Linked DNA regions of Homo sapiens: regions 2, 3, 4, 5, 6 and 7 are each linked to region 1. The links are contacts of gene promoters, found by promoter capture Hi-C in blood cells and fetal thymus (Javierre and others, 2016). All regions are on one chromosome and are shown on one strand. Each heading gives the region's core, a stretch centred on a gene start or on the middle of the fragment in contact. The rest is flanking DNA. Distances are from core to core; before and after follow the strand shown.

Region 1 (4,337 bases), core at 1,267-3,766:
CAACGTGAAAAATCTGCTTTAATTCTAGTCCAATGAAATTATACACAAAGAAGCCAATACGATTTCATGATTTCCCTGAGATCGCCAATATTGATCGAGGGAAGGCGGAGGGATGGTGGGAGTGAGGGAGGAGGGAGGGAGGAAGGAAGGAAGCGAGGCAGCGAGAAAATGCAACTCACCTTTCTGCTCCCAGGCACACCGAAATATAATTCCCAAAAGCAGGTTTATCTCAGTGTCCTGGCAAATGAGTTTAACATTTTGAAAATTTATTTAAATGGCAATTTATATACCTAGGTTTCTGTATGGAGGAAGCATCAGCCTAGGGTAACTGGCCACTCCTTGAGACTGAAGCCAGCAGAGCAGCAGAGGCTACCTTAGCACTGGGGCATATCAGACCCACTACTTCCCAGTTCTGCTTCTCTCCTGCTGTATTTCAGTCCCTGTGCACTCATGGACCAAGAACAGGTTGCACTCTCGTGAACTTTTGCTCAACTCAGTATTATATTTCAAACATTAACTGACTCAAATCATCCCAAGTGTCCAGATGCCATATATAAGGTAGGGAGTGCGAAGAGAGACAGTAGGAGGGGGTGAGGAGGAGAGGAAAAACAGAGAAACCAAAATCTGAGTTATTTTACCTGGCTCCTGTTGTGACACTAGAGATGTGAGCAACCAGAAAAGTATGTCTGGCAAACCAGAGGATCTGCCGCTTTCTTACTCAGGCTTTGATAACACAGAGAAGACGCTATTTGAAAGAATAATTGGCAGCGTATTGGCCAGAGCTCAATGAAGTTGATCTATGAATAACGTCACTGTACATTCATGTGACAGGGTGGGGGTGGGGGTGTTGCTCTGAAGCAAGAAGAGAGAGGAGGGCGGCAGAAAAGGTCACTGAGACTAAGAACTGTTTTCCAAATGAATCAAACCTTTCTCTGGCACCAAGAAGGGACATACAGTATTCCGAGCTCTGCCCTTGTTTTCTTATCAAGTTTTCTCTAACAGCTGGAAGTGGTTGAAGGGGGCTGTCTTAAGGAGACCCCCTGCTCTTCTTTTGACAGCTGATCAAAAGAAAATAGGTCACGCTTCTCAAACTTATGTCCACCCTGTCCTTAATTACTGTCTCTTTAAACAAAGGCAACATCTGCGCAACCTCAGCTAGCTTGAATCTTCGGAGGCAAACAGAGCGCAACCTGCTTTGGAAGAATCTTGTTACGTTTAAGGCTTTATGCCGGGTGTTGGCCTCTCTGTCTTCAACTACCCCTCCACCCCGACTCGGACTGCAGAAATCTCCAACTCTCTGTCCCCCAGTTCCACTCCCACCTCCAGACCTGGGGTTGCCAAACAACGGAAATTCTAGGAAGACGTAGGTGCGGTTTTTAAAGCCTTGGCTTGTGAGCGTTCTCAGGCTGGCCGGGGCGCTGGTCTTTTCAGAAACAAGGTTTGAATATGCAGGTGTCAGCCAGGATTCCTTGTCGTCTGCCCACCGCCGTTTCTCTCCCGGGATTTGAGAGAAGCGGGAGTGTGTGTGTGTGTGTGTGTGTGTGTGTGTGCGCGTGTGTGTGTCTCGTGTTAGGAGAAAGGTCCGTGGTTGCCGTCTCAGCTGGTTTGCTTACTCTCTGCCCCCAGGAGAAGTTTGCTCACTTGGGACACCAGCGACCCTCCTCACCTCCACCTCACCGGTTCTACACTCTCCCCACTTCTTTCCAAGTCGCTGATGCAGAAAGCACTTGGTCACCTTGAAACGGCAGCTCCCGGAATTCTAGTTTTGTTTTGCAATCTAGCAGGGCTCTTCGGAAGCCTCATAACTGAGATTTATGGGCTCACCGGGTAATTAAATGATGTTATTGTGTTAACTTTGCATGCATTACTGCTGCCCGCGCCGCCCGTGGGCCGCCGGCCGGCCGCAGCTCGCTGGCGACGAGGGCACTACAGTTGCTCTGACCGCGTAGATTATGCATGTCCCGGCCTCGGGAATTTACCATGCATTAGAATACATTAGCGCCTGCATTTTAAAAGGCTAAACTATTGGCTCCCAGCTAGGGACTCTCGGTAAGTGGCTTGTTAGTGACGAGTGTTTGTCTATACTGGCACATAGCGGAGTCTTTTGCTCCCGGCTTACTCGCCTCCAGGAAAGCTTTGGGGTGAGGCGAAGGCGATTGAAGCAATGCCCCTTCCCCCAGATCGCAGCTGCTCAGGGGGGACACAGCACGGCATCTTTCACCGAATCTCTCTCGCTCGCTCGCACTCCAGCCTCCCTCTCCCCAGCGACCCCCCCACCTTCTCCTCCCTCCCTCTCCTTGACGTTTGATTCCAGTAGCAAAGGAGGTAAAAAAGGCACCGAGCCGTCAGCCAAACCTGAAAAGTGCGGCCCCGCCCCCTCCACAGCCACTGGTAGCTTCCCGTGGAAGGCCCGCCTCCCGGGGCAGCTGCGGCCTCGGAGTGGTTGCGCTTGGCGCCCGTCGGGCGTGGCCCCGCCCCAGGTCCGGGAGGGTAGGTTGGCTGCCCCGGCGAGCGGCAGAGCCCTTCTGGACAGCTCCCGCTCACCCAAACAGAAGACGTCGGCGCCGGAGCGGGCTCGGACATGGCGAGGCTGCGAGCCGGCCCGAGCGGCGGGGCCCGGTGATCCCTCCCTCCCTCCCCGTCCCCTCCCCTCTCCCGCACGCACGCCCCGTCCGCCCCCACCCCGCCCCCACCCCGGGCGAGCCCGCCCGCAGCCCGGGGCGCACACCCGCACGCGCACTCCTCTCCACTCACTCCCGCGCCCGCCCCCACTCCCGCAGCCGAGCCCCGCCACGCGCGCCTTGCCCGCCCGCCGGCCGCCCCCGCCGCCCCCGCCGCCCCCGGGCCCTGATGGACTGAATGAAGGCTGCCTACACCGCCTATCGATGCCTCACCAAAGACCTAGAAGGCTGCGCCATGAACCCGGAGCTGACAATGGAAAGTCTGGGCACTTTGCACGGGCCGGCCGGCGGCGGCAGTGGCGGGGGCGGCGGCGGGGGCGGCGGGGGCGGCGGCGGGGGCCCGGGCCATGAGCAGGAGCTGCTGGCCAGCCCCAGCCCCCACCACGCGGGCCGCGGCGCCGCTGGCTCGCTGCGGGGCCCTCCGCCGCCTCCAACCGCGCACCAGGAGCTGGGCACGGCGGCAGCGGCGGCAGCGGCGGCGTCGCGCTCGGCCATGGTCACCAGCATGGCCTCGATCCTGGACGGCGGCGACTACCGGCCCGAGCTCTCCATCCCGCTGCACCACGCCATGAGCATGTCCTGCGACTCGTCTCCGCCTGGCATGGGCATGAGCAACACCTACACCACGCTGACACCGCTCCAGCCGCTGCCACCCATCTCCACCGTGTCTGACAAGTTCCACCACCCTCACCCGCACCACCATCCGCACCACCACCACCACCACCACCACCAGCGCCTGTCCGGCAACGTCAGCGGCAGCTTCACCCTCATGCGCGACGAGCGCGGGCTCCCGGCCATGAACAACCTCTACAGTCCCTACAAGGAGATGCCCGGCATGAGCCAGAGCCTGTCCCCGCTGGCCGCCACGCCGCTGGGCAACGGGCTAGGCGGCCTCCACAACGCGCAGCAGAGTCTGCCCAACTACGGTCCGCCGGGCCACGACAAAATGCTCAGCCCCAACTTCGACGCGCACCACACTGCCATGCTGACCCGCGGTGAGCAACACCTGTCCCGCGGCCTGGGCACCCCACCTGCGGCCATGATGTCGCACCTGAACGGCCTGCACCACCCGGGCCACACTCAGTCTCACGGGCCGGTGCTGGCACCCAGTCGCGAGCGGCCACCCTCGTCCTCATCGGGCTCGCAGGTGGCCACGTCGGGCCAGCTGGAAGAAATCAACACCAAAGAGGTGGCCCAGCGCATCACAGCGGAGCTGAAGCGCTACAGTATCCCCCAGGCGATCTTTGCGCAGAGGGTGCTGTGCCGGTCTCAGGGGACTCTCTCCGACCTGCTCCGGAATCCAAAACCGTGGAGTAAACTCAAATCTGGCAGGGAGACCTTCCGCAGGATGTGGAAGTGGCTTCAGGAGCCCGAGTTCCAGCGCATGTCCGCCTTACGCCTGGCAGGTAAGGCCGGGGCTAGCCAGGGGCCAGGCTGCTGGGAAGAGGGCTCCGGGTCCGGTGCTTGTGGCCCAAGTCTGCGCGCCGAGTCACTTCTCTTGATTCTTTCCTTCTCTTTCCTATACACGTCCTCTTTCTTCTCGTTTTTATTTCTTCTTCCATTTTCTCTTTCTCTTCCGCTCTTCCCCTACTTTCCCTTCTCCCTTTTCTTTTTCTTTCTTACTCTCTCCTTGTCCCTGAGCTTTCATTGACCGAC
Region 2 (4,337 bases), core at 715-3,214, 740 kb before region 1:
CAGTTTCACCATGTTGGCCAGGCTGGTCTCGAACTCCTGACCTCAAGTGATCTGCCTGCCTCGGCCTCTCAACAGCCAGTGGAAATCGAATGTCAACCATATATATATAACCATACCTGTAATTTCCTAATAGCTGTGTTAAAAAATAAAATGAAACAGTTGAAATTGACTATATTTTATATAACCCAATATAGCAAAAACTATTTTCATTTCAACTTCTAATCAATATGAAGATTGTTGATGAAATATTTTAGGTTTTTTGTATCAACTCTTCAAAATCTCATGACTAGTTTAAATTCACAGCACATAGGAATCTGGATTACCCCCATTTCAAGTGCTCAGTAGTCTCATGTGGCTAGTAGATACTGAATTAGGCAGAGTTGTGTTAGAAGATAAAATTGGAAGCCTTTGCTGTGATATAATTTGTAGCTATTCTAAACATTCATGTTTACTTTTACTTACTGAAACTTGGTAAACCTTTAATTTTCCCATTTTAAATCCAAACCCTCATTCACAGGTTGGCCACCTCACAGAACACTCCGTGGTCATCGGAACAAAGTCACATGTTTGCTATATCCTCATCAGGTCTCAGCTCGGTATGATCAAAGATACCTGATATCTGGAGGTGTGGATTTTTCAGTCATAATTTGGGACATATTTTCTGGAGAAATGAAACATATCTTCTGTGTTCATGGTGGTGAGATTACTCAACTTCTAGTTCCACCTGAAAACTGTAGTGTAAGTTGATTTATATAAAAGATTATTTCACTATGGTAGAGCCAAGTTATATTACTATCAGGAATGTAAATGGAATCTAGACTAACTTAAAGGAAGTGTGACAAGATAATTAAGAAAACCCTTTCAATTTTAAAACTAAAATAATAGTAACATTTAGGCAAAGTTACGGCCACTAACTATTGGGGCACATAGAAACAGAAGAGAGACATAGTGTTTTTTTACTAGCTTCAAAATGGTCTGGCTTCTTTCTGAAACATAGCAGCAGTTGAGAAAATGTTTATTGAATGATGTTTCAATTTTACATTTTAAAATAATTTAAGTATGCCTGAAGACATTGTACAATCTCATTATTTTTGGGTCCATCTGAGCAAAGACAATGAATATATATGTTGGTAAAGGCAAAATACTTATCGATAGAGTTCACTTAAATAAAAAATTGTTGTTAACAAGGGAGACAAAGCCTAACAGTCACTGATGATGATTTTGGAAAATTTCATACATACCTTTGTGGAACCAGATTGCTTTCTGATGCATTTTAAGTTAGGCTGTGATGTCTTATAAATAGAAATATGAGATTTTAGGAGGGCTTAGGACTGATAACAGTACTTTTTTTTATTGTTTATTAATCATGGGACTTATTCATGTGATTAGTCATCTTTGTGTGCATAATCACTGTCTCCCAACACTCACTCATTTGTTTGCACATATAGAGACATCGTCTTCTTGTAGACAAGTCATGCTTATCATAATTCATTCACCGTCACCAGCTCTGGTATTACTGAAATTGAAAACAGTCTTACTGGTGTATCTGCTGCAGTATCTACAAGATATCTCATTTCAAAATCTACAAAATTTTTCTTGGCCCTTCTGCTTACTTGCTTAATCTTCCTGATAATTTATTTTATCAACCATGTTCTGCCAGTGCTAGATTTTGTTTGATTTGATATTGGTGGCTTTGTAAGAAATCCTAGTACCAATGTTTCTCATTATTTTTCCTGGCAGATTTGCAAATTTACCTCCTTAATTGTTCTCTTCCTTCTTTTTTATTCCTTTCTTCCAATTAGGTTGTTAATTTCTTATTCACTGTGAAAAACTGCTATGTATTTAACCAATTTTATGTCATATTTTGGTGAAATAGATATTATTGTAATTACATTAATAAATTAAGGTATTGTTACAACCCCTCTCCTAAACTTCATTTTATAGTAGTTATGTCCTATGGTGAAACATGACAATTTTCTTTTCTGAATGCACATTTGGTGAAATATCTAATTTTTCAATGCAAAAATTGATTATTTAGATAATTCTATACTAGTTTAGAACAACCATTTCTGTTTTGATTGATTTTGTGTGTGTGTGAGAGAATAAAATATTTAAAATAATAGAATATTAGATAGAATAAGATATAGTTTTTCTTTAAATTACAAATGTGATTAAAAGTTTGGAATGGGCCAGGTGCGATGGCTCAAGCCTGTAATCCCAGCACTTTGGGAGGCTGAGGCAGGCGTATCACCTGAAGTTGGGAGTTCGAGAACAGCCTGATCAACATGGAGAAACCCCTTCTCTACTAAAATTACAAAAAATTTGCCAGGTGTGATGGTGCATGCCTGTAATCCCAGCTCCTTAGGAGGCTGAGGCAGGAGAATTGCTTGAACCTGGGAGGCAGGGGTTGCAGTGAGCTGAGATCGTACCCTTGCACTCCAACCTGGGCAACAGGAGCGAAACGCTGTTTAAAAAAAAAAAAGTTTGGAATGGCTTACACAAGGTCATGCTCTCTATTTGAATATGTTAATTATACATTTTTTTAGCTTATATATTCCCTTGTGTTTTTTAAACAAATTTCTTTTAAAAAATTTCAAGTGGGCAGGGCATGGTGGCTCATGCCTGTAATCCCAGCACTTTGGGAGGCTGAGAGGGGCGGATCACGAGGTCAGGAGATCAAGACCATCCTGGCTGACACGGTGAAACCCCGTCTCTACTAAAACTACAAAAAATTAGCTGGGCATGGTGGCAGGCGCCTGTAGTCCCAGCTACTTGGGAGGCTGAGGCAGGAGAATGGCGTGAACCCAGGAGGTGGAGCTTGCAGTGAGCTGAGATTGCACCACTGCACTCCAGCCTGGGTGACAGAGCAAGACTCTGTCTCAAAAAAAAAAAAAAAAATTCAGATTGGTATTTAAAATAATAAAATGTTTTTGACTATTTGTATTTAAAAATAAAATGTAGTGAATAAAATACTAATAGACATATATGCAACTAAACGGAGAATGGGCTCGCTACTAAACTTGGACAAGCCAAAAGCGGTAGTTGGCCTGGAGAATATGAGGAAAAATGATCTAGACAGGGAAGTCTAGTACTTGAAAAATAATGTATTTGCAATTTGTAATTTAGTTATTACATGCTTAACAATAGAAATTTTCTTGGGTGGGAGGACGGAGAGGATTGGGAAAAACAACTAATGGGTACTGGGCTTAATACTTGGGTGATGCAATAATCTGTACAACAAACCCCCATGACACAAATTTACCTGTATAACAAACCTGTGCATGTACCCCTGAACTTAAAATGAAAGTTAAATTTTAAAAAATTGAAATTATAAAAAGGAAAAAAAAGAAATTTTAAAATTCTTATTCAAAAGTCCTGATAAAGACAAAGATACTTGATTTTAGCTGTGGGGTAATTTAGCAAATAAATAATGACTGCCTAGTTAATAACCTGTTCAGTTAGCTGGTTAGGTGGTTTTATGCACATCAGCAAGTATGTTTAAAGATCAAAGAGCCTAATTGCTTAATAAAAAGCAGAGTTTGATGTTTGCTAAATGTTTAGAAAATGTGTGGCTGAGATTAGAGTTTGCTACATCATATACTGATTCTAATGCTTGAATAGTCCCTCTCATAAATTGACCCAGTGTCCTGTTCTTTTTAGCAGAATATATTTTTATTTTTGTTTAAACGTTTTGATTGGGCAATAGTAGTTGAGATAGTTGATCAGCTAATTGTAGTTGAAAGATTATAAATATTTACCAAAAGTAATGATTAGAGATAAATGCTGAAGAGTTTGTCATCTGTTTTGTTTATTAGAATAGTTTTGGGTTTTAGGTGAATTCAGGTGGAAGTTGAGTTTGGACTTCTTGTAATTATTTGTTCAGGAAAGATATTCTAAAACAGAGAAATGTCAGTTGTGTGTAAAAATTACTTTAACTGTGAATAAGAATGTACAAAGCTGATGATTTCTCCTCTCTTTATAGTCACACTTCACGTTTCCTAAAACGTACAAAGTTGTTAAGAAAAAGTACTCAGCTAAATAATTCATTATTTGTCTCCTAACTTAGGTAGATAGTAAACAAAAAGTGAAAAACTGTCTGCTAGGTAGAACAGATGCTGCAGCTGGAAGTTGGAGATGAGCTCTGAAGACAGACTCCAGACCCCCTTTTCAAACTCCACATACATGTCAGTAGGTATTTATCATCCTTTCTTTCCCCACTCCTTCATTTTTGAGCTGTTTTTAATATCTTTTTATCTAAAAGTCTTTCCAAATTCCTACTAGAGATTAGCATTAATTTAGTGGCAGACTTAAGTGGTTTTGTATGCTTTATTTTTAAT
Region 3 (4,337 bases), core at 1,106-3,605, 720 kb before region 1:
TTTTGGCTGGACCATATGGCCTTTTTTTCTAAAACATGTATTAAATAAACAGTCCTCTACTTTTTTTTTTAAATGAAGTTTGGATTTTTAAAGCTTTTTTTAAAGGTCTAGTTTTGTGAAAGTGTAGAAGTGAAATTAACATTTAATTTCATAGGCTGTTTTTTCCCCTTCAGGTAGAATATTTAACGTGATAAATGATGCATCTTAACTGCACATTTATGTTCCATAGCAAGAGTTCTGGGAAGTACAAGAGATAATGATTAAGAGAATAGTGGGATTGATTTATGAGCAAAAGAAACTGGTCATTTACAGCATGTCTAATGATGGGCATGTTTAAAAGGAAAGACAATAGAATGTTCATGTGTTTAGCGACTATTCAGGCCAAGAGAAAAATTGTTTTGGGCACATAAGACCATTGCTTCTGAAATGATATGAAGAAAAAGAGTAATTTAGTTTAGAAAAACAAATTAGCAAAAATAGAAAATAAAAAATATCTATTATTTACACTGGGAGCTGTTGGAAAGTGGAGTCATCTCCCCAGAGAGCTAGTGGATGGGATAAACTAGCTGTCTCTGATTTCTGTAATTCATGGCAGATGCTTAGGAACAGGTTACATAAGAGGTTTCTGGGAATGGTTTAAAATGAAGTCTTGTAAAATGTGTAAGGTCAGACTGGGTGACCTAGGTGGTATATTCTGACTCTGTCAGATTCTGTGATAGCTTGTGGCATTCTGCTGTTCAGCACTACTGAGGATTATTTACTGGCAAATCCAATGAGCCTTTATTTGGCTTAGGATGATAATTATTTGAAAAATAATAATTGACCTAAGAATATACTTGTTTTGGGCCAGTATTTTCTCCCCTCTCCTTGCTTTTTCATAAAATAAAAATAGAGTTTTTACTTGGTTAAATATTCTGTTGATTGTTGTTAGCCTTTACTTTTAATTGGCATTTGATGTCATTGGTGCATATTGCATGTAGGGCAGAATGAATACAGTGTTTGGAACATGAATTTGAATAGCTTTCACCTGTAAAATACTATCTAAGTTGATAGAATACTTCATCTGTGCTGCATAAGTTCTGTTCCATAACAATACAAATTTTTAAGGGGAATTTTATGTTTACATTCTTTAAGTCAGTTGATAGCAGCGGTTACTGAAGTAGAATAGATGAGACAGTCAATGGAGGTATAGGAAGAAAATCTTAGAACTTTTACTTACTTATTTTTTAATCTTAGGAAATTGAGCTTTATGAACATTTACTAGAAGGAGGGGCATTGGTGGCCTCACCTGTTTTGCATACCAGAGGGACACGCATCATCTCAGGCAAGAGTGGGTGAGCCTCAAGTGGGGTGCCAGAGTTACTTTCATCCTGTTTGTTTCCACTTAAAATGTGCTTGCTTAAGGGATTTGCAGATTATATTATATAGTTCTAAACCTAGCCATCACAAAATGGGCAGGGAAAATATGGATGGGAGATATTTCTAATGAAAAATCTCTTCATCGGCTATATTACAAGTTTTAATGATCATTTGATCAGTCTGGCAGGAGGGCAGCAAAAAATTTATAATTATATGAAATTTGTATTTACATCCACTGTCATTAATAAGGAAACCTTCCTAAGGATCTATTTTGTGACATGAGATATTGGCTAATGTAATGTGAAGTTACTCACATTAATGAGACATTTGAGAAATGTTTATTCTTAAATCTGTTTATTTAAACCTTGAGTCATCCTTTTGAAATATATGTATTTGTGCATCTATTACAATTTAGGTGATACATTGCACAGAATTACACATATACAATTTATAAATATACAACTATTGGGAACACATTTCAAAATTATTTAATGCATGTGTAATAGGAATAATTTGAGGCATAAATATTTTTCAAATAAGTTTAAAGATAAGAGGTTCACATTTTTTAGTTGTTGTATTATTATTTTACTTATACAGTTTAAGTGTTTTATACATTATCTTGTTATAATGCCATTGGTGTTAAATCATGTTTAGGTGACTTTTCGAGGTTGAAATGGAAAAAGATGAAGTAGAATGGAATTAATCAAATTATAGAATGAGTCATTGCAGGTGAAATAGGTGTTCAGTAACCCAGATCTCTAGAATTTAATAATAAAGGAATTGTGCTAATTTAACTCATTTGTGAAGAAGCTGGGTGTAAATCAGGAAGAAATATGAGTTATAAAGTATTCTTTAAGAAGTGCTTTAATAATTTTGAGGACAGATAAGAGGAAACCAAGTTGTGTTTTATCAGAACTTTTAAGTGCTTTTATTTAACAGAAAGCTGAGAATTATTTATTATTACTCTGTTCATTGTTTAAAATTAATATGAAATGTTGCTTGAATAGTCTTTTTTCCTTTTACACTTAAATAAGCTAGACATTTGCTTTGTTTATACCATTAATTTGTTTTCACACAGGCTGCAAAGGTAGCCATCACCTCAGAATTAATTAGTGAAATCAAAATTAATGAGGTTTTACTATATTGGGTCATTTCCACTTCAGGCCAGTTTTCTTTATATGAGTTGGACTAGCATTTTTTTGAAAGAAGAAAAATTAGATTTATTTTAATCCATATTTAAAAAGCACAGAACCATCTTTTCTTGTGAGTTAAGTACCTCTAATAACTATGCTTTCTTGGGCTTAGTAATATTGATTTTTTTTTGTTTTCATTCTTGATTATTTTGGCTACTTCCAGTCTTTCTTATTACAGTAAAGCTAAAGTTAACTCTTTAGATACTTATTATCATTTACAGAGATGGTATATCATGTTTACTTTGGACGAAACTTTTTTTTTTTTTTTTTTGAGATGGAGTCTCACTCCGTCATCCAGGCTAGAGTGCAATGGTGCGATCTCGGTTCAGTGCAACTTCTGCCTCCCAGGTTCAGGCGATTCTCCTCCCTCAGCCTCCCCATCGGCTACTGTTTTGTATTTTTAGTAGAGATGGGCTCTCACCATGTTAGCCAGGCTGGTCTTGAACTTTTGACCTCAGGTGATCCATCCCCCTCGACCTCCCAAAGTGCTGGTATTATAGGTGTGAGCCACTGTGCCCGGCCTGGACCAAACAGTTTTTTGTAGATTGAGCTTGTTATTTGCAAATTTTCATTATTACACTATGTGAAAGGGGAATAAAAGTATTCTTTAAAACATATTTAGTTAAATATATGTGTCAGAGGAGAATGTGTCATGTAGAAATGAAAAGCTAGAATCTTGGTGTTAAAGCTCTTTTTTTTAACCTTCAGAAAATTACATCTCATAATCTACTTTTTAAAGCAGATCCTATGCTCTTATTTAATATTCATTTTGTATGTCCTTTATTTTTACTACATGAGAGTAATAATGTAGAGTTTTTAAGTCTTATGAAGATAGATTACGTTTTCTTAAATCTTTGAAATTATCTGCCTGTGTATCTGTGGGGAGGGTGAAAGTTCTGACAGGGAAACTTCTCATGAGGGGTTGATAATGCGGAAGGTCAAGTTTCTCATAAGAATGAGAAAACCTTTTTTCTTTGCTTAATGGCTCTAGTCCTCTCTCTGCTAAATTACAAACTATGGTAAGGAGATCTTTGACAGAGAGAGAGAGTATGCGTAGCTCAGTGGTTGTCAGCAGCTTTGTGTCACCTCAGATGTTGAGATCTCCAGTAGGGCAGAATTTTAGGAACGCCTAACATAGTAGAGAATATTGGCAAAACTTCATATTGACTCATACTTCATTTTCTCTACTTTTTGGAAAGGAATGACTAGAGTATATGTGAGCATGAATGAAATGACTTTCGACGTGGGGACTAGCAAATAGGTCAGTTAGATGTGTGGCACTAATTAGGGATTAGCTCTTTATAAAGAAGATTTTGGAGAGTTTGGGAGTCTAAGTAGCAGAATCAAAAGTAGGGTCAGTGGCCAGGCGCGGTGGTTCATGCCTGTAGTCCTAGCACTTTGGGAGGCTGAGGCAGGCGGATTGCTTGAGCCCAGGAGTTCAAGACTAGCCTGGGCAACATAGAGGCTCTATTAAATATTATAGATATAAAACAGTAGTGTTGGGTGTGTGAATACTGTGACTGATCAGTGCCTGATGGGAGGACATGAACAGATTAAAAGGAATACTGTTTAGGCATCATTCTTTAAGTTAATTATACCCGTAGAAAAAGATAACTGTTTCTTTGATGAGGGCAATAAATAAAATGACCACTTTTTGGCAGATCGATGTTGCAAAATAGAATATTGTATTTAACCATTAATGTAGCAACCAACCCTTTTTATAAAATGAATAATGGATATATTTGACAAAGTCAGTACTGATGATAAGCTGTAGAAATGCAAAGC
Region 4 (4,337 bases), core at 1,189-3,688, 700 kb before region 1:
TTGATAAGATGGCCAGAGAATAACTCATTGAAAATGTAACATTAAGAGCTTGAAAGGTGGGTGAAGGAGGTGGTGAAGCTCACATTGGAGGAAGTTTTTGCTGTGACTTAGACAAGAAATGCATAGATGGAGATAAACAGAAAGGATAGCCAAATAAAGAAGCGTTAAAGTAGTTGTAGGCCGGGCGTGGTGGCTCATGCCTGTAATCCCAGCACTTTGGGAGGCCGAGGCGGGCGGATCACGAGGTCAGGAGATCGAGACCATCCTGGCTAACACGGTGAAACCCTGTCTCTACTAAAAATACAAAAAATTAGCCGGGCGTGATGGCGGGCACCTGTGGTCCCAGCTACTCGGGAGGCTGAGACAGGAGAATGATGTGAACCCAGGAGGCGGAACTTGTAGTGAGCCAAGATCGCGCCATTGCACTCCAGCCTGGGCGACAGAGCGAGATTCTGTCTCAAAAAAATAAAAAATAAAAAATAAATAAATAAATAAGTAAAGTAGTTGTAAGTAGAAGTAGTGGTAATTTCCACAAACATACGAAGAAACATTTGGCTGGATGGTGAGAGTAAGAGTCAAGAATTTGCAGACAAAATGTAGAAATTATAATATTTTTTCTGTTTTGTGGAAGTTTCTTAGAGAAGCTTCAGCAATTATTCAATGAGGAAAAAAACAAATTTTAGTAAGACTTTTTTCGTTTAAGATTGATATACAACTTAGAGGAAGGTCAAATCATAGATTTTAATGTTTGTAATGGTGCGATGGGACAGGAGTAGTCAAGAAAACCATCTGGGAGGTAGAAAGAGTGGAAAAGCCTGGAGAAGGTTGTTGGAATCTTAGCTCTGAACTTGACTTTATTGGGAAGTTGCATCAGGGACTTTGTGGGAGAGGAATTCATTGAGGTGGTAGGTACTACATGGAAGATTGTTAGAGGAAGGAAGTACAAAAAAAAATTTCCAGGAGGCATTGATAAAACATGTTTCTACTTAAAAAATTTTCATACCATTTTTTCTTTACTTAAACTATTCAAAATGTTGTAGTGTTATGAAATATTTGTGAATATATTTTTCTCGCAGGTGCATTGGATCGTTGTGTGATGGGGATAACAGCAGTTGAGATTCTAAACGCTTGTGATGAAGCTGTTCCTGCTGCTGTTGATTCACTTAGTCATCCAGCAGTCAACCTAAAACAAGCTATGACGAGACGTAGTCTTGCTGCTCTTAAAAATATGGCCCATCATAAGCTACAAACCCTTGCAACTAACCTCTTGGCTTCTGAGGCATCTGACAAGGTAAGTTTTATATGTGGGCCCATGAAGTGTGTAGACCCCATTTAACTTCATTTAGTAACATGGCTTTGGCATATCTTAGAAAATAATTTTTGAGAAATGACCCTTGAAAAATAAACTTTTGATTTTCATTTAGGTTTATCCAACATGGTTTGAGTTTTTCAAGTACTTGGCATTTTGGAAAAGTATATTATTCTTACCATTCAAATATTTTTAAATTCTTCCGACTGAATTAAGTGACTTTAGTTTCTGAAATTAGGGCAAACCAACTGTATATAATCTGTCTTACTTTTTGGTAGTCTTTCTGTTGAAAGATTGAGCACTAGCTAATGTCCTAAGGAGGGAAAAAAGTAATTTAGGTACAATTAAGATGTCTGTAATTGTGATGTATCATTTGTTTTAAAATTAGGTTCTGATTTTAGTAAGGTTAAGCGATTGTAAAGATTTAAGAAAATGTTTCAGAATACGTATGATGGTGTTGCAGAAGTACTGAAATTTTTCTGAGACCCAAGCTCAAACACACTTTCCTTACTGACACTTAATAAAGTATAAGTTACTTCTTCAGTTAACAGAAGATGATCCTATTAAAAAAACCAATCCCAATTCATGAATTGGTTACTTATCTTTAGTTTTGTAGAGTCTAGCCACTGTTTGGTCTGTGGTATTTGTGTCATGTGGTATAATTAGCACTAGTTTGTCTCTAGTAATGGATAAATCAAACCTAGAGACAATCTCAATATTTCATCTCAATCACTACTTAAAATTCTAGTTCCATCTAAATATTCATTAGAGTTATTAATGAATAGGCACAAATACTTTTAATTTTAGTCTCTCCTTGATTTTCATTTTTTTAAATGGTTAGACATGTGAATAAATAGTAAAGGGGTTGAAAGGCTCATCTGCAGACTTGAAAATTAACCATGAGTTCGTGCGTGCTGATGATACATGAAATACTGTAGGCAGTTCCACTGACCCACATCCTCCAGTAGTTCGCAGTAATGTCACCCTTTGATCATTATTTCTTCCCTCAAGATATAAATGTTTTATCAGCTATGTTGTATTGTATATTTCAACAACTGGAACTGTGAAATCATTCTACATTTTTCCTCTGTGCTTTCAGTAGCAAACCCTAAAGTTTGTGAAGAAATCACAGCTGAAAGCATTGGCCATACCTTCAGTTACTTCCAAGGAATCTTGTAGCTGTCTCTAGGAATTCAGTGTTCATAGCACATTTTCTGACATGATATGTAATTTGATTTTGAGCAAATTTATAAAACAATATGTTTAAGAGCATGCATGCATGTGGTGTAACTCCCAGATATATTCTTTTTCTTGATGGTATCCCCTAGAAGTAAAAATTTGGAAAAATAATTATATAACTTGAAAATTAAAGAAAAATAAGTGGTACAGTAACAGTTATGAATGGCTTTTGTAAGTGGTCGTGGTCCATTATGTGATTTTTACAATCTTGTTTGTCCCTGTTTTAATAGCGTATTTTATAGCGCAATTAGTGATAAAAGCACCAGATATCAGAGACACTACACTTATGTATTGTAAAATATATTGCTTGTGAACCTCCTTAGTCTTGTAGCAGTGGTAATTGTTGCCTGGCCTACAAGGAAAACAATTATAGAAGGGAGGAAAAAGGCTTAGGAAGCTGAAGCTGCAGGAGGATAATCACTTTATAAAAAATGTATGTTGGCTGGACCATTAGGGATTTCTCTAACTATTTTCTCATGTTGAGTTTGAGGTTCCTTCTGAAGAGAATATTTAAAGAGCTGTCCTCTGGATAGCTTTCTAACCTCAGGAGAAATAAACCCACCCAAAGTAAAAAACAAACAACTAAGAGCTTCTCAATGGTACAGGACTTACTCTAGGATATTGGATCTAATTTTTTACATGAGTCTTTCAATGGAAAGCAAAGCCTGTATTGGGATACTCTATAGAAAGTGCTGCTTTTTGTCTTGGTAACATAGTGTTAGCAATCAGGGCTATATGGAAGTAACAGATATTTTATTTTGCTAATTATGTTAATTATACTGGACATTGAAAACTTCACAAAGATGGAGAATTTACTATCCTGTGATTTTTTTCTCACAGTAGAAGATCAAGAGGGTATTAAGTAAAATACTTTATTACTGTGAAGGAGTCTTTTGTAAGATTGTGTATATTTGAAACCCTTTGCATTTCTCTTATGACATGTATTTTTTTCTTTATATTATGATAACTTATATATTTATCTAATTCTCCCTACTGAAATTCAGTCTTTTTGAGAGCAGGGATTTTTGACTTATTTATCTCTGTGCTTTTCCATGACATCTAGCAGCAGCTGCTGTGCAATAACTATGTGTTGAATTGGATGATGTGGAACAGAAAGTGCAGAGAGCCTTTTCTTTCGCTGTTTTGCCCTTGTCTTTGCCATTCCCTCATAACTGATTGTCTTAAGACCCCTGCATTGCAGCCTCAAGGCTGTGTTCATGAACCTTTAGATGTGGAGCATTCATTAGTAACTTGCATTCTTCCTTTGCAAAAGGAAGTTTTGCTCAGTTTTGCATTCTTCCTTTGGTTTTGGTGAGTGAAGTTGTGTAGATATAACTCATTCTCCTTCCTTGCCTTCTCTGTATTATCAGTGTTCTAACCCATCCTGGACTTATCTCAGCTTTATCCTTTCCTTTATTCCCGTTCCTTTTGACTGTAGACCATGATAACTCATTTGTGACAGATTGACATTTTGGGATGGGTAATTCTTTCTTGTTGGAGGACTGGAGTCTATATAGTAGGATGCTGAGCATCATTTCTGTCTTCTACCTACATCACATCATGCTGGTAGTAGCCTCCTCTTTCCAGTTGTGACAATCAGATGTCTTTAGACGTTGTCAAATTTCCCTTAAGAGGCAAAAATTGCCCCCGGTTTAAAACCACTGCTTTTGAAAAAAAAAAAAAAAAAGCTTGAAATAGCAGGAATCCTGCATCCTCTATCCTATCCCTCTTTTCCCTTCCCTACCCTTGTTTTTTAATCTCACTCTTCCTCAGGACAGTGAAGCCATTA
Region 5 (4,337 bases), core at 902-3,401, 670 kb before region 1:
ACCTATTAATTAAAATAATTTATCTGGGGATTCCTTTGAATGTCAGGGTAATCATATGAGATAACCTTTTCCCAGTTTCAAAGGGAAAACTTTTAAACCTTTCATAATTATGATATTTCCTATATGCTTTTGTAGATGTTAAGAAACTAGCTACCTTTTATTCCTTCTTTGCTAATGTTTATCATCAGTGTATTTGGATTTTATCATACCTTTTCTGTATTGATTGAGATGATTGTATAACTTTTAATTTTCCTCTATTAATGTGGCAAATTTAGAACATAAACCCAATCTTGCATCCTAGAATAAAACCAATTTTGTTTTGATGTATTATTTTCTTATAAATTATTGTATTTGATTTAATATTTTTTATTTAGGAAAACTTTTTTTTTCTGATGTCCTTAGAAGCTTTCAGATTATTCAGGTTACAAAAACTGAGTTGTGGAATGTTTTCTTTTTTTTCTATTTTCATGAAGAGTTTGTATAAGATTGGCAACATTTCTTTCATAAATTCAAACTCTAGATTTAAATTTGCTGGATTTAGATCTAGAGTTTTCTTTGTAGGCAGTTTTTAATTCTGGGTTCAACTTATCTCATTGACTTTTCAGATTTTGTTTCTTTGGTGTCAGTTTTGTTAAGTAGTACATATTTAGGAGTTTCTCTGATTCTAAATTTTCAAATATATTGACATTTGAGATTATAATATTGTCTTTTAATCTCTCTGGTATCTGTAATATGTCCTTGTTTTTATTCCTGATTTTAATAATTTATGTCTTCTCTCTTTTTGCTTCATCAGTCTTACCAGGGGTTTATCAATCTTATTAGTCATTTTAATGACCTCAATTTGACTTTATCCTTTCTAGTGCATATTTTTCCCCACTTCCTTAAATTCTGCTCTTTATTTACATCCTCCTCCATTTTTTGGATTCAGTGTGCTGTTTTTTGTTTTGTTTTGTTTTTTGTTTGCCATCCATATGTCCATTTTGGCGAAATGCCTATTTATATCTTTTGTCCAATTTTTCTTACCTTAGTAAGAATTTTTTTTTTTTTTTACCTTGGGTTGCCTACGAATAAAGTTTTTTTTTTGTTTGTTTGTTTTTTTGTTTTGTTTTGTTTTTGAGATGGAGTCTGGCTCTGTCGCCCAGGCTGGAGTGCAGTGGCGCGATCTCAGCTCACTGCAAGCTCCGCCTCCTGGGTTCATGCTATTCTCCTGCCTCAGCCTCCTGAGTAGCTGGGACTACAGGCGCCCGCACCACGCCCAGCTAATTTTTTGTATTTTTAGTAGAGACAGGGTTTCACCGTGTTAGCCAGGATGGTCTTGAGCTCCTGACCTCGTGATCCTCCCACAGTGCTGGGATTACATGCGTGAGCCACCACGCCTGGCCTTCTTCGATGTTCTTTATCAGGTTGAAAAAGTTCCATTCTATTCTTAGTTTGTCGAGATTTTAAAAATTATGAATAGATGTTAGATTTTATTCAGATGTTTTTTCTGCATCTATTGAAATGATTATTTGATTTTTGTCTTTTATTTTCTTAATAAGACAAAGTATATTGACTTTTAAGTTTTAAAACAACCTTGCAATATAGACCACATTTTGAATTACCAATTTTATAGTTTGTTAGGTACAATTTGCTAAAATTTTGTTAAGGGTGTTCATGTGTAAGTTCATGAGGAAGTTTGGTCTTTAGTTTTCATTTCTATTAATGCCTTTGTCCAGTTTTGCTGATAGGATAATGCTGGCCTCACAGAATGAATTAGGAAGTAGCCCCTTTCCCTGTATTTTCTGGACGGGTGAGTGTAGGTTGATAATTCTTCCATATTTGGTTGATCTAATTCACTAGTGAAAGCCCAGGGGTTTTCTTTATGGGAAGGTTTTTAACTACGGATTTAAAAGTATTATAGATATAGGGCTATTCTGCTTGTTTTCAAAAATGTCTACTTGGGTGAACTTTGATCATTTGTGTCAAATTTATCAGCAAAAAGTTGTGTGTAATCTTTTATTTTGCTTTTACTATCATATTTGTAGGATTTGAAATTATATTCACTCTTTCATTTCTGTTATTCATAATTTATGTTTTTTCCCTTTTTCTTGATCAGTCTGTCTTGTAGTTTAGCAATTTTATGGATCTTTTCAAAGAACTAGCCTTCTATTCATTGATATCTATTATTTTTCTATTTCACTGGTTTTTGATTTGATTATTATTTATTTTTTCTATTTTAAATGTGCTCTTATATTTTTAATTTCTTAAGGTAAAAGCTGAGATCATTGATTTAAAACCTTTCTCCTTTTCTAATATAGGCATTCAATGCTACAAATTTTCCCCTAAGTATTATTTTAGTGGCATTACACACACTTTGCCATATTGTACTTTTAATTTTCCTTTTGATTTTTTTCTTTTACCCATGGATAATTTAGTAATCAGTTAATATAATTTCCAAACACTTGTGGATTTTCCTAGGATCTGTCTGTTACTGGTTTTCATTTTATGGTCAGATACTATATTTTGTGTGGTTTGAATCCTTTGGCATTTGTTTCAATTGATTGTGTTTATATATGGGCCAATAACATTGCGTACATTTATAGTGTACAACATGATGTTTTGATACATGTGTACATTGTGGAATGGCTAAATCTAGCTAATTAACATATCTATGACCTCATATATGTATCATTTTATGTGTGTTGAGAACACTTAAAATTACTCCCTCAGCAATTTTTAAGTATATAATACATTGTTACTAACTATAGTCTCCATGTTATACAATGTGAATCCTTTTGAATTTATTGAGACTTGTTTTATGGCCCAAAATATAGTCTGTCTTGGTAAATATACTGTGTGTACTTCAGAAGAATGTGTATTCTGCTGTTGTTGGGTGGAATATTTTATAACTGTCAGTCAGGTCAAGTTGCCCGTGTTCAAGTTTAGTATATACTTGCTGATTTTTCTGCCTGCTTGCCTTTATCAATTAAATAAGAGTATTGAATCTGCAGCTATAATTATGGGTTTGTTTATTCCTTCTTGCATTTCTATCCCAGTTTTTGCTTCATGTATTTTGAAGCTCTCTTATTAGGTGCATAAACCTTTGGAATTTTTATTTCTTCTTGATTATTTGACCCTCGTCATTATGAAATGACCTTCTTTATCCTTGGTAATGTCCTTTGCTTTGAAATTTACTTTGTTTATAATAATACAGTAATTTCAGCATTTTTGGCTACTGTTAACATAGTATAATCTTTTCTCATCCTTTTACTTTTTACCTATTTGGCTCTTTATATTTAAGATGTGTTTCTTGTGGGCAGCATATAGTGGGTCTTATTTTTTAATCCAATCTGACCTGCTTTTTACTTGAGATGCATAAGCCGTTTACATTTAATGTGATTGTTGATATGGTTAGGTTTGAATCTGTTATCCTACTACCTTATTTTTCTCTTCGTTGCATTTATTTTTTGTTCTTTTTCTTTTTCTGCTGTCTTTTAGACTAAAAAGATTTTTTTTATGATTCCATTTGATCTCCTTTATGGCTTTATAAGCTAATTTTTATTATTTTAGTAGTTTTTTTAGAGTCTGTAGTCTATGTCTTTCCGTTATCACAGTGTACATTCAAGTGCTATTATACTATTTAACATTTAATATAAATGTTAAACCTTATAATATTATATTAGCATTTCTCATCTCCTGGTCTTTATGCTACTGTTGTCCTGCATTTTACTTTTATATATGTTATAAACCTCACAAATTATTCTTGTGATTTGTGTTTAACAGTAATTATATTTTAAAGAGACTGAAATAAGAAAAAATACATATTTACCCACGTAGTTACCTTTTTTGGTATTCTACATTCCTTTGTGTAGATCAAGACTTCTATCTGGTAAAATTCTTCTAACAAAAGGACTTACTTTAAGCTTTCTTTTTATGTATGTATATATGTATGTATGTATGTATCTATCTATCTATTTATTTATTTATTTAAGTTCTGGGATCCATGTGCTGAACGTGCAGGTTTGCTACATGGATACACATGTGCCATGTTGTTTTGCTGTACCTATCAAGCTGTCATCTAGGTTTTAAGCCCTGCATGCTAATCTTTCTTTTAGTGAGCGTCTGCTCTTCAAGTTTTTGTACATTTGAAAACATCTTTGTTTGTCTTTGTTTTTGAAAGCTTTTTTTTTTTTCTGGTATAGAATTCCAGGTTGACTTTTTATATCTTTTAATGCTTTGAAGATGATATTCTGTTGTCTTCTTGTTTGCATTAGTTCTAACAAGATCTGATAGCATTCTTATCTTTGTTCCTCTGACTGTAACATTACTTTATTAATCTTGTTGCTTTTAAGATTTTC
Region 6 (4,337 bases), core at 508-3,007, 630 kb before region 1:
TTTTTTTTTTTTTTACTTATCCCCAAATCTCAGGTATTGAAGTTTTTATTTACTTTCATTGCATAGTCACTTGCCCTAGCAACCTTGTAATTATATTTACCAGTGATTCTACTTCATTTTCCATACTGGAACCAGGCATCTGTTTTAAAGAATGAAAATTTCTTTCTTGCTTCAAATTTTCTGTTAGTACCCTGTTTCTCATTGCCTTTGGGGCTCTAGCCTCAAATGTTTTATTAGCCTCATTGCCTACCTCTTCTCACACTGTTTATGCTCCTGCTACCCGCTCTGTAGATGCGCCAGGGACTTTTAGCATACCCTTTCTTCCTTGAGTTTTCTTCACCTAGTGTCATTTCTTTGTGAATTCTTATACATATTTCAAGACCCAATTCAAATATTTCCTTCTTGTGAAATTGTCTTTGACATGTATTTCTTCCTCTTCCCATCCTAAGAAGAGCTGATTTTTCTCCATATGTGAACTATTTTCACTTATTCATTGATAAATCTGTATTTTCATTATGGCTATTAGATTCTCTAGTGTAAAGTCCTTGTGTTTCCCTACCTTCATTTTTATTTTCTTTGCCTAGAATAACTATCATTCAAAAAAGTTAAATGAATAAATTTTTCCTCCTGCCTTCGCCATGCTCAGAGAACAGCCCTACCATTCTGTGTTTTAACTGAAAACTACTCTTGATTTTCTCTCCATTAAGTACTGTCTTTAAAAAAATATATAGATCAGTGATTTTCAGACTTTTAGAAAAGCGGTATCCTTTCTTCAAATGAAAACTTCTGTAAAACATGTGGACATGTGTGTGCATGCATGCATACACACAACCACATAGAGGTAAGGATGGGGAGGGTAGAGGTCTCCCTTCTGGCACTTCTAAGGAAGTACTAGGGCTCCCAGTAGCACGGTTTTACATCATTGGCCTCATTGCTACCTTCATTCACCGAGTCCCTCCAAGTCATTCTTTACATTGCTACAGGAGAGCCCTTTCTAAACACAAATAAAATTAAGATATTTTCTGTGCTTAAATTTATTTAATGACTCCCTCAGTTTACATATAAACTTTTTGGAAGCTAAGGGTATGTCTTTGTACTTTTGTGTCTCTAATCTCTGGTATAGGGCTTGTTGCATAATAGCCTGGAGGCTCCTTGAGTGTTTAGTATAATGAGGGAACATTGCACTGTTTCCTATACCATTGCACAGTTATTATACCTATTGCACGGTTATGTTTACCATTTTAATGGCTTGCTTTACTTATATTGGCAATGCCAGCCTCTCTGTTACTCAGATCTATCCCACCCTTCATGCCCAATACACATCTTAACATCCCCTTTTTAAAGCCATCAACTTCAGCAGCCTTCATCAGTTTCCCTTTGATTTCCAAAGCAGCTTGCTGTTATAAATAACAACAGGTGTAAGGTACTGAATGTAGTGAGTGCACTGTTTTTGTCACCACTTGATGATGTAACCTCTGCCTAGGTGATCCTAGCCAAAAAAAAAAAAAAAAAAAATTCATGAAGGATTTCAAAGGTACCTTCTTATCTAAAAGAACATACTTTAAGCACAGTTCTGAGATATGTAATTCTGCTTATAGTTTGAGTTTCTAAATCAGCCAGAGGTTATAATGTTAAGCTTATGCTTTAGTACAGTTGTGTATCAAAACGGTTTTTTCTTTGTTTCATAACAATTTATAGGTTGAACAACATAGTCTTTGGTTTTTTTGTGTCTTTTGAAACCAAAATTGGTGTTGTCAGCTCATATCCTGCAAATCTCACAGAAATTTTTGAAAAAATACATGCAGTAATTAGAAGCATCAGGCTTGATTTTTTAAATGATGGATCAATTTTTAGATATTTTTGGGAAAGAGAAATAATAAAGCTTTATGCTATCCCATTAATATTCTATTGATACAGTACACTTCCTGTTTTCTATTTTACTTACATATTTTTCAGTAAATGTTTCCCTTTTGTTGCTTTCAGAATTGCTAATAATTACATTTTATATGAGAGCAGTTTTCTAAAAAAAAAAAATACTAGTTAGGAAAAAATGTATTTCATTTGTTCATAAACAAAGATCAAAACTCGTGTTACCAAATAATTCTTACATTGTTATTTGAGCTTGAAGACATTCTGCTTATTTTAAATTATATTTTTATTTCTCTAATTACTTTGTGGACTTTAATAAACTAACTTTATTGTTTTTGATAAATTGAAGTGGTCTTTATTCAGAATAAGGGATAAATTTCTTACAGAAAGGCTTTTCTACAAGACATCTATACTGTTAATTTCATATTTTTGATGTTATTGCAGAAGGAAAAGTGGATACTGTGTCTTTAATGGAAAGCAAAAGGTTATCTTTCTATGGCCTTTGTGTGTATGTGCTGATGTGGATGTAGGCAGCCAGACAGGCAATGTGTGCAGAGAGACTAGGGAACCGGCTGTGGATCGATAGAAGTGGTGTGAAGTGAATTAATGTGAGGCAGGCTGTCTGTCTGTCATAAGGATTGTGGGGAATGTGGGGCAGTGTTGGTCAGTCACTGCAGAGATCTGCTTCCAATAAATTCAGGCCTTCTGCCTGAAAAGAAACTGTAGATACTCACATACTCCCTTATTGTTAAATTTTACCTCATTCACAGTAAATGTTCATATCAAATTATTGCCTCCAGTGTACTTTAATTGGACGACTGGAAAACCACAGTTGTGAGGAACTGATGAAATAAAAATATCTGCCATTCTTTTGGATCTATTTTTCAATCTCAGTGGAAATCTATATTACTGAGAATGAGAAATAGAATTTTTGTTAATATTTATAAATATCTTTCTCCATTCTTAGTCCTAGCAGTGTTTATCACTACCATCTAATCTTCAATAAAAAAATGAAACTATAATGAACTGAAGTGGTTTTATATTTCCATATTGGTTAAAGTGCTGGTTTTTACATGTTACTATATTAAAAATTAGTATTTTGTTCTCGCATTTCATGTTAATCACATGACACTGTAGTCTTGTGAGTTCATGTTATTTATTATTACTCAGATATTGTTAGCCAGTTGGAAAAAAATTCATAAAGGTAATTTACAAGCTTATGAAAGATAATTTTTAGAATACTATACCCAATTTTACTGGTGGGGCTAGTTGAGTGTAGTTTAATTCCATTGATTTTGAAGATGGCATATCCATATTTATATTTTAAAAAACTTCTGAAGTGGCTTAAAAAATATTGCATAAAATTGGGAAGTTTTATGTATATAGATTTTTCGTAATGAAGAGTTATCTAAGCGTTTAGAAATCTAGATGGCGTGAGGATCTCATAGTCTTTCTTGTCCTCTAATTCTCACTTCTACTAGCTACAACCCTCCCACTTCCCTTTTACTGTTGTGTCCAGACTTACTCATACCAGCTTGCTGCCCCACTCCATTCCCCCTCTGCCCCCATTTTCCTCCTGATGCATGATATAAAACTCATTTATTGAGAACTGTTGTTTGGTATAATGTACATTGGTTTTTTATTTTGTGAAATCTGGATTTGGATACTCACTGGTTTTTTACCTGCCTCATGTCTTTCTGTTAATTGTATTTCTTTTTTATTATATCTCTTTACTCTCCTTATTTCCTTATTATTCTTTTTATCATATCTCTTTCCCCAAAGTACCCTTACTGTTATTTTCTAGTATATTTAAATAACGCAATTTGTGCCATGAGATAAAGTATTCAGTATTTATTGAACCTTTATGAGATTTTCATCACTGTCAAATATTTTGGAAATACTCAGAAAGTAAGTAAACCGTAGCTTGTGTGGTATAATTTGACAAATAAGCTCACTTATGTCAAGTACAAAAGAATATACCAAAATATCACCATATAATTAATTGACAATATTTATAACTTTGATATACAAAATACCCTGAAATTTCCATAAATATATTTTCCTAGTGGACTCTTATTTTTTTTTGCAAGGATATTTCATTTTCTTTGGTAGTGGATAGTACACAAAGGCTAAGCTTTTTGTAGCAGGGAGAACTAAAACTATTTTTTCTAGTCTCTGTGTTTTGTTGAAAATAGCATTGTATTCTGGCATAGTCTTCAATTCTCTTTTGTGACAGTGATGTAGTGCCTTCTATTGTATGTTTTTTTAACAAGCTAAGTTTTTGGAAGTATATATATATATAGTAAAATGCACACTTTTAAACATATTGTTCTATGAGTTTTAAACACATGTAAATAGTCATGGTATAGATTATTTTCACTGTTCTAAAAATTTTGCTTTACCTCTTTATAGTCAATCCTTTTGTCACACTCCTAACCCCTGGCAACCACTGATTTCATTTTTGTTTT
Region 7 (4,337 bases), core at 615-3,114, 610 kb before region 1:
TACACCAACACATAAACAGTATTAGATCAGAAAGCCTTAAGTTTTGAGTTTCGCATTAACTATTATATATTTCTTTTGCTAAATTTAGACCAAACAGGAAAAAAGCAGAAATACTTAGTTGGATAATAATGTAGATGCTGCATTGGGGTTGGGGGAGGGCAGGTGGGTGGTAGAGGGAAGCCATCCTTGTGAGTGAATAACCTTCAGGATGAACTTAAAGTCTGGCCTTTTGTGAGCTGTGTAATAATAACTCATGGATAAGGGTGAATTACATTAGATTGTGGCACACTATTATATATCTATATATTACATGAATTGCCCTTATAATTGATATCAAACTCATATGACCAAAAGTTGTAATTCACAAAAGTAATGACAACAATGTCTCATAATTCACAGACTCTATGTCATACCTGTGAATGATTGCTTTTACTGTGCAAACCATGTTAAAGGGGAAAAACAGGTTTTAAAATAGATGTCGGGTTCTGAAGACTCCTTCTTCCTGATACTTCATAGTCATTTTTAATACACAAAAAGATAATTAAATTTACTATCATCTGTGACTTTCCCCATGATTTCTTGGTTTCAAGTCACTTGCAAGTGTAAAAGCTTTTGCTCTTAATTTGAAGTTTTAAATTACAAATGAAAGGTAATATTTAATATTTGAAGTGAAGATAGCCATAAACCTGAATGTATTTTCTCCTCACGTGACATACTAGAAAGAGGAGTCCTCACTCATAGGTAGGATAAATATTGAGAGTATTTTCTCATCTTTTTTGTTATAACTATTTATCCTAAATAAAGATGGATGAATTAAATCCAGTGTGAAAGGATTCAGGGAATCAGAACCAGCTACTCTTTCTTTGTTTACCCTTTCTGTAAATGTATTTTTTCAGTGTGGTTAGTACCACTGAAAAGGAGTATAAGGAATATTCAGTTTTATTCAATAAAACATGAATAAGTGCCTTATGTCTTCTATCAGCACATTCTATGGGGGATTTAATAAAGCAAGCCTCTAGATGAGAAGGCAATGATCAAATTTTAGATATGTCTGCATGCAAGTGCACAGATGACATATATGTGCATATTCTCTGTAGCTGGGAGAATTCAGAGTACTGAGCTTAGTTAAGGGTAGGAGTTATGTAAGAGGTAAGCCTGCGCTTATTGCGGAGGTGGAGAGACATGGGAAAAGCTTCCAAGCTCAAGCTGTTAGTTTACAGACTTAGAAATAATTAGCTGTGGAGGGAGTGAGAAGAAGAATGGCCTTGCCCAGAGCAGACAGACTGTAAGGACAGCTTCCTTACTTGTTCATTGTATGCCCTTATTTGAGTTACTTGACTGTGCTAAGCCTCAATTTTCTCACCTGAAATATGAGGATAATAAGGTTATTAGGAGACAGATGAATGGCTACAGAAAATGTGGGACATAATCACAATGGAGCAATGGAGTACTATTCAGCCATAAAAAAGAATGAGACCAATCATTTACAACAACCTAGGTGGAACTGGAGATCATTCTGTTAAGTGAAATAAGGCAGGCACAGAAAGACAAATGTCGCCTGTTCTCATTTATGGGATCTAAAAATCAAAGCAATTGAACTCATGGACCTATGTCCATGAGTAGAAGGAGGGTAGAGAGCCTACCAGAGTCTGGGAAGGGTAGTGGGGGTTGGGGGAGGGGTGGTTAATGGGTACAAAAATAGGTAGAAAGAATGAATAAGACCTATTATTTGGTAGAACAACAGGGTGACCATAGTCAAAATAATTTAGTTGTACATTTAAAGATAAGTAAAAGAGTGTAATTGGATTGTTGATAACATGGAGGATAAATGCTTGAGAAGATGGATATTCCATTTCCCATGATGTGATTATTGCAAATTGTATGCCTGTATTGGAATATCTCATGTACCCCATAAATATATGCACCTACTATATACCCACAAAAATGAAAAATTTAAAAAAAACAGCAAAAAACAAAAAAGATTGTCTTGAGGATTAAATGAGATGATGCATGGAATGTTTTTAGAAGAACTGGAGCATAGTAAGTGCTCAATAAATATGATAGGCTTCTTGCCTCACTTCCCTTCTCATTACCACCATCATCCTTAAGTGATTTGCTTTAATAACATAAATGGTTGATAACTAACATCATTTATAAATCAGTTTTGAGTGACTTAGTGGTGTTTATTCTAGGTAGTTTGACTATCCTTTACAAGGATATAAACTTGCTAGAAACATTTATACTTTACAGATCAAGAACTAAGCCATATCCAAACTACCACTTCAAATTTTCACAAATTTATAAAAGTTGGCTCGTGAAATATTGATAAATTATATTTTCTTAAACACTTTTATATTGATTTCTTTTATCACATTTATTGTCTGAGTTGAATTTGACCATGAAGGTGAATTATTTGACGAAACAGACATAACTGCAGCTTTAAAAGAAAAAGTAGCTGAGGAAGAGTTAATTTGCATATGCATAGCTGAGTTCAGCCAATGGTGAAGTGAGGGGTAAAAAGGAGAGATAATGGAGACAAGCTTTCCGAATGTTCTGATGTGGCCATTTAGTTGACAGTCATTACTAGACTTTAGAAAACATGTTTGAAAAATAATAGACAAGACGGATATGGTCCATGGAGAAAGATACCTTAAAATATTAAATATTAATTAAAATATTTTTTAAAATCTGAAGGTTAAAAGAGGATCTTCACCATACTATCATTAAATAGTCTTGCCGAGAAAGATAAAAGGGGGAATGTTTAATATAACTCTCATACTTGCAAAGGATGGTTTGTCATCAGCTCAGTTTTTAAGAGGGTGTGTTCAAAAACAGAGCACGGTGTACCACAGCAAAATTCAACTAAATGTGAGAGTAGAATATAGACAGTTTTAGAAATGCAGGTTATCAAAAAATGTGCCTCCTATGTCTTAAGAACTAGTGGAGGATGTGTGCCTCCAAAATTGAGAAAGTAAACCAAGAAAGAGGAAGCTGAGGATCTAGTGATCCAGATAATCTTTATATAACCCTTTATATAAACCTTATAAAACCTGTCTTGCCCCTTGATACTTTCAAACCCCCATCTCATTGTTTTAGGCAACATCCCTTAGGAACATGCTGCTCAGGGCTGAGCACAGTGGCTCACATACGAGGATAGCTTCAGACCAGGGGTTCAAGATTAGCCCGCGGCAACATAGTGAAACTTCACCTCTCCAAAAAAAAAAAAAAAAAATTTAGCTGAGTGTGGTGGTGTGCACCTGTAGTCTCAGCTACTTGGGAGGCTGAGACAAAATGATCACTATGATTGCACCACTGCACTGCAGCCTGGGTGACAGAGGGAGGCCTTCTGTAAAAAAAAAAAATAATAAACAAACCCCAACCTCCCCCTACCACACACACACACACAAAATAGGACTGTAACCCTCAGAAACCTAGCCACCCTGAGGGTTACTTGGAAAAGGGAAATCTGAGAGAGAAGCATTTAGGCTGCAAAGTCCAGCACCCCCTCCCCATGTGGAAAGTCTCCGTGACTGTATTGATTTAATAAGTTTCCTTATGTTCTGGATATTTGGCAAGTTCTAACTGTTCCATTTTCCAGGGTAGGCTTGATTTCTGCTCCTGAATCTACTCCCTTGTATAACAGATTTACACTTCTGGGTGAGAATTTGGGGATAAATTACTGAAATATAAAGAGAATCAAGTAAATAACAAAAGACAGTTATTGACTGCAAGGAGGGAAAAAAAGCAGTGCTGATAAAGTTATCAAAAACCACATGATTGAGTTATGCATAACATGCACAGATTGTGAAACTATCAACCTTAATTATGATGTAATTTTATTAAGAACTGTGATATAAATTGGGAGGCACAGGAGGAAGAAGGCAGGAGAAAGCGTGTGAATGTGGTATGTGAATGTGTGAATGTGGAGTGTGTATGTGATGTATGCAAGTTGTGTTTATGTAAAGGAGAACCCAATTTTTATTGACCATAGTTGAGGATCATAAGTTTAAAGATAGATAAGTCTAAAATTGAAAAGTTAGAAAATAACAACACAGAGTTTTCTAAAGTCAAATGTCCAACAAGTCTTTGTTTTTTAAAAAATGGGGAAAATTGGATCCAAGCAGCTCTAAATTGGTTAGTGTACTGTCCACATATACCGGAAGTCTGCAGCGAATTGTTAAATATGATTTGGGAGCACTTAGAAGAAAAAGTGAGATGCAGTACAGGTGCCCTGAGTTTACCACACTCTTGAATTTTATCACAGTGTTTCAGTTGCGTTGATTTTGTTGCCCTTCATGATCTAAAATAATTTTGATGTTTTGGTGTAAAATGTATAC

What was found. Contacts are between HindIII fragments. The CHiCAGO score rates a contact against its expected background, and 5 or more counts as called.
Region 2: a contact is called between a fragment that was not itself captured here and the fragment with the promoter of ONECUT2 in region 1, in 1 of 17 cell types (megakaryocytes). The highest score is 5.9, in megakaryocytes.
Region 3: a fragment that was not itself captured here is called in contact with the fragment with the promoter of ONECUT2 in region 1 in 1 of 17 cell types (endothelial precursors); the score reaches 8.8 in endothelial precursors.
Region 4: a contact is called between a fragment that was not itself captured here and the fragment with the promoter of ONECUT2 in region 1, in 1 of 17 cell types (endothelial precursors). The highest score is 5.4, in endothelial precursors.
Region 5: a contact is called between a fragment that was not itself captured here and the fragment with the promoter of ONECUT2 in region 1, in 2 of 17 cell types (endothelial precursors and erythroblasts). The highest score is 10.2, in endothelial precursors.
Region 6: a fragment that was not itself captured here is called in contact with the fragment with the promoter of ONECUT2 in region 1 in 1 of 17 cell types (endothelial precursors); the score reaches 6.0 in endothelial precursors.
Region 7: a contact is called between a fragment that was not itself captured here and the fragment with the promoter of ONECUT2 in region 1, in 1 of 17 cell types (endothelial precursors). The highest score is 6.0, in endothelial precursors.

What each region holds. Positions count from the first base shown.
Region 1 is chr18:57,432,858-57,437,194 of GRCh38, forward strand. It overlaps ONECUT2 (one cut homeobox 2), which reads left to right and starts at 2,517. Exons shown (of 2, transcript NM_004852.3): 1 at 2,517-4,087. The coding sequence starts at 2,860. RefSeq lists enhancers at 1,243-1,823, 1,824-2,403 and a silencer at 2,397-2,446. The HindIII fragment of the contact is 9,553 bases long and covers 2,133-4,337 here.
Region 2 is chr18:56,695,725-56,700,061 of GRCh38, forward strand. WDR7 (WD repeat domain 7) reads left to right here. Exons shown (of 28, transcript NM_015285.3): 12 at 518-738. Among named protein-coding and RNA genes, the nearest start is that of WDR7, 47 kb to the left of the region's middle. The HindIII fragment of the contact is 6,848 bases long and covers 1-4,337 here.
Region 3 is chr18:56,711,640-56,715,976 of GRCh38, forward strand. The region is part of intron 12 of WDR7 (WD repeat domain 7); the gene reads left to right. Among named protein-coding and RNA genes, the nearest start is that of WDR7, 62 kb to the left of the region's middle. The HindIII fragment of the contact is 4,528 bases long and covers 92-4,337 here.
Region 4 is chr18:56,730,307-56,734,643 of GRCh38, forward strand. WDR7 (WD repeat domain 7) reads left to right here. Exons shown (of 28, transcript NM_015285.3): 14 at 1,077-1,291. Among named protein-coding and RNA genes, the nearest start is that of WDR7, 81 kb to the left of the region's middle. The HindIII fragment of the contact is 3,592 bases long and covers 643-4,234 here.
Region 5 is chr18:56,761,864-56,766,200 of GRCh38, forward strand. All of the region lies in intron 16 of WDR7 (WD repeat domain 7), which reads left to right. Among named protein-coding and RNA genes, the nearest start is that of WDR7, 110 kb to the left of the region's middle. The HindIII fragment of the contact is 3,497 bases long and covers 404-3,900 here.
Region 6 is chr18:56,805,653-56,809,989 of GRCh38, forward strand. All of the region lies in intron 19 of WDR7 (WD repeat domain 7), which reads left to right. Among named protein-coding and RNA genes, the nearest start is that of WDR7, 160 kb to the left of the region's middle. The HindIII fragment of the contact is 246 bases long and covers 1,635-1,880 here.
Region 7 is chr18:56,825,907-56,830,243 of GRCh38, forward strand. The region is part of intron 20 of WDR7 (WD repeat domain 7); the gene reads left to right. Among named protein-coding and RNA genes, the nearest start is that of WDR7, 180 kb to the left of the region's middle. The HindIII fragment of the contact is 1,348 bases long and covers 1,191-2,538 here.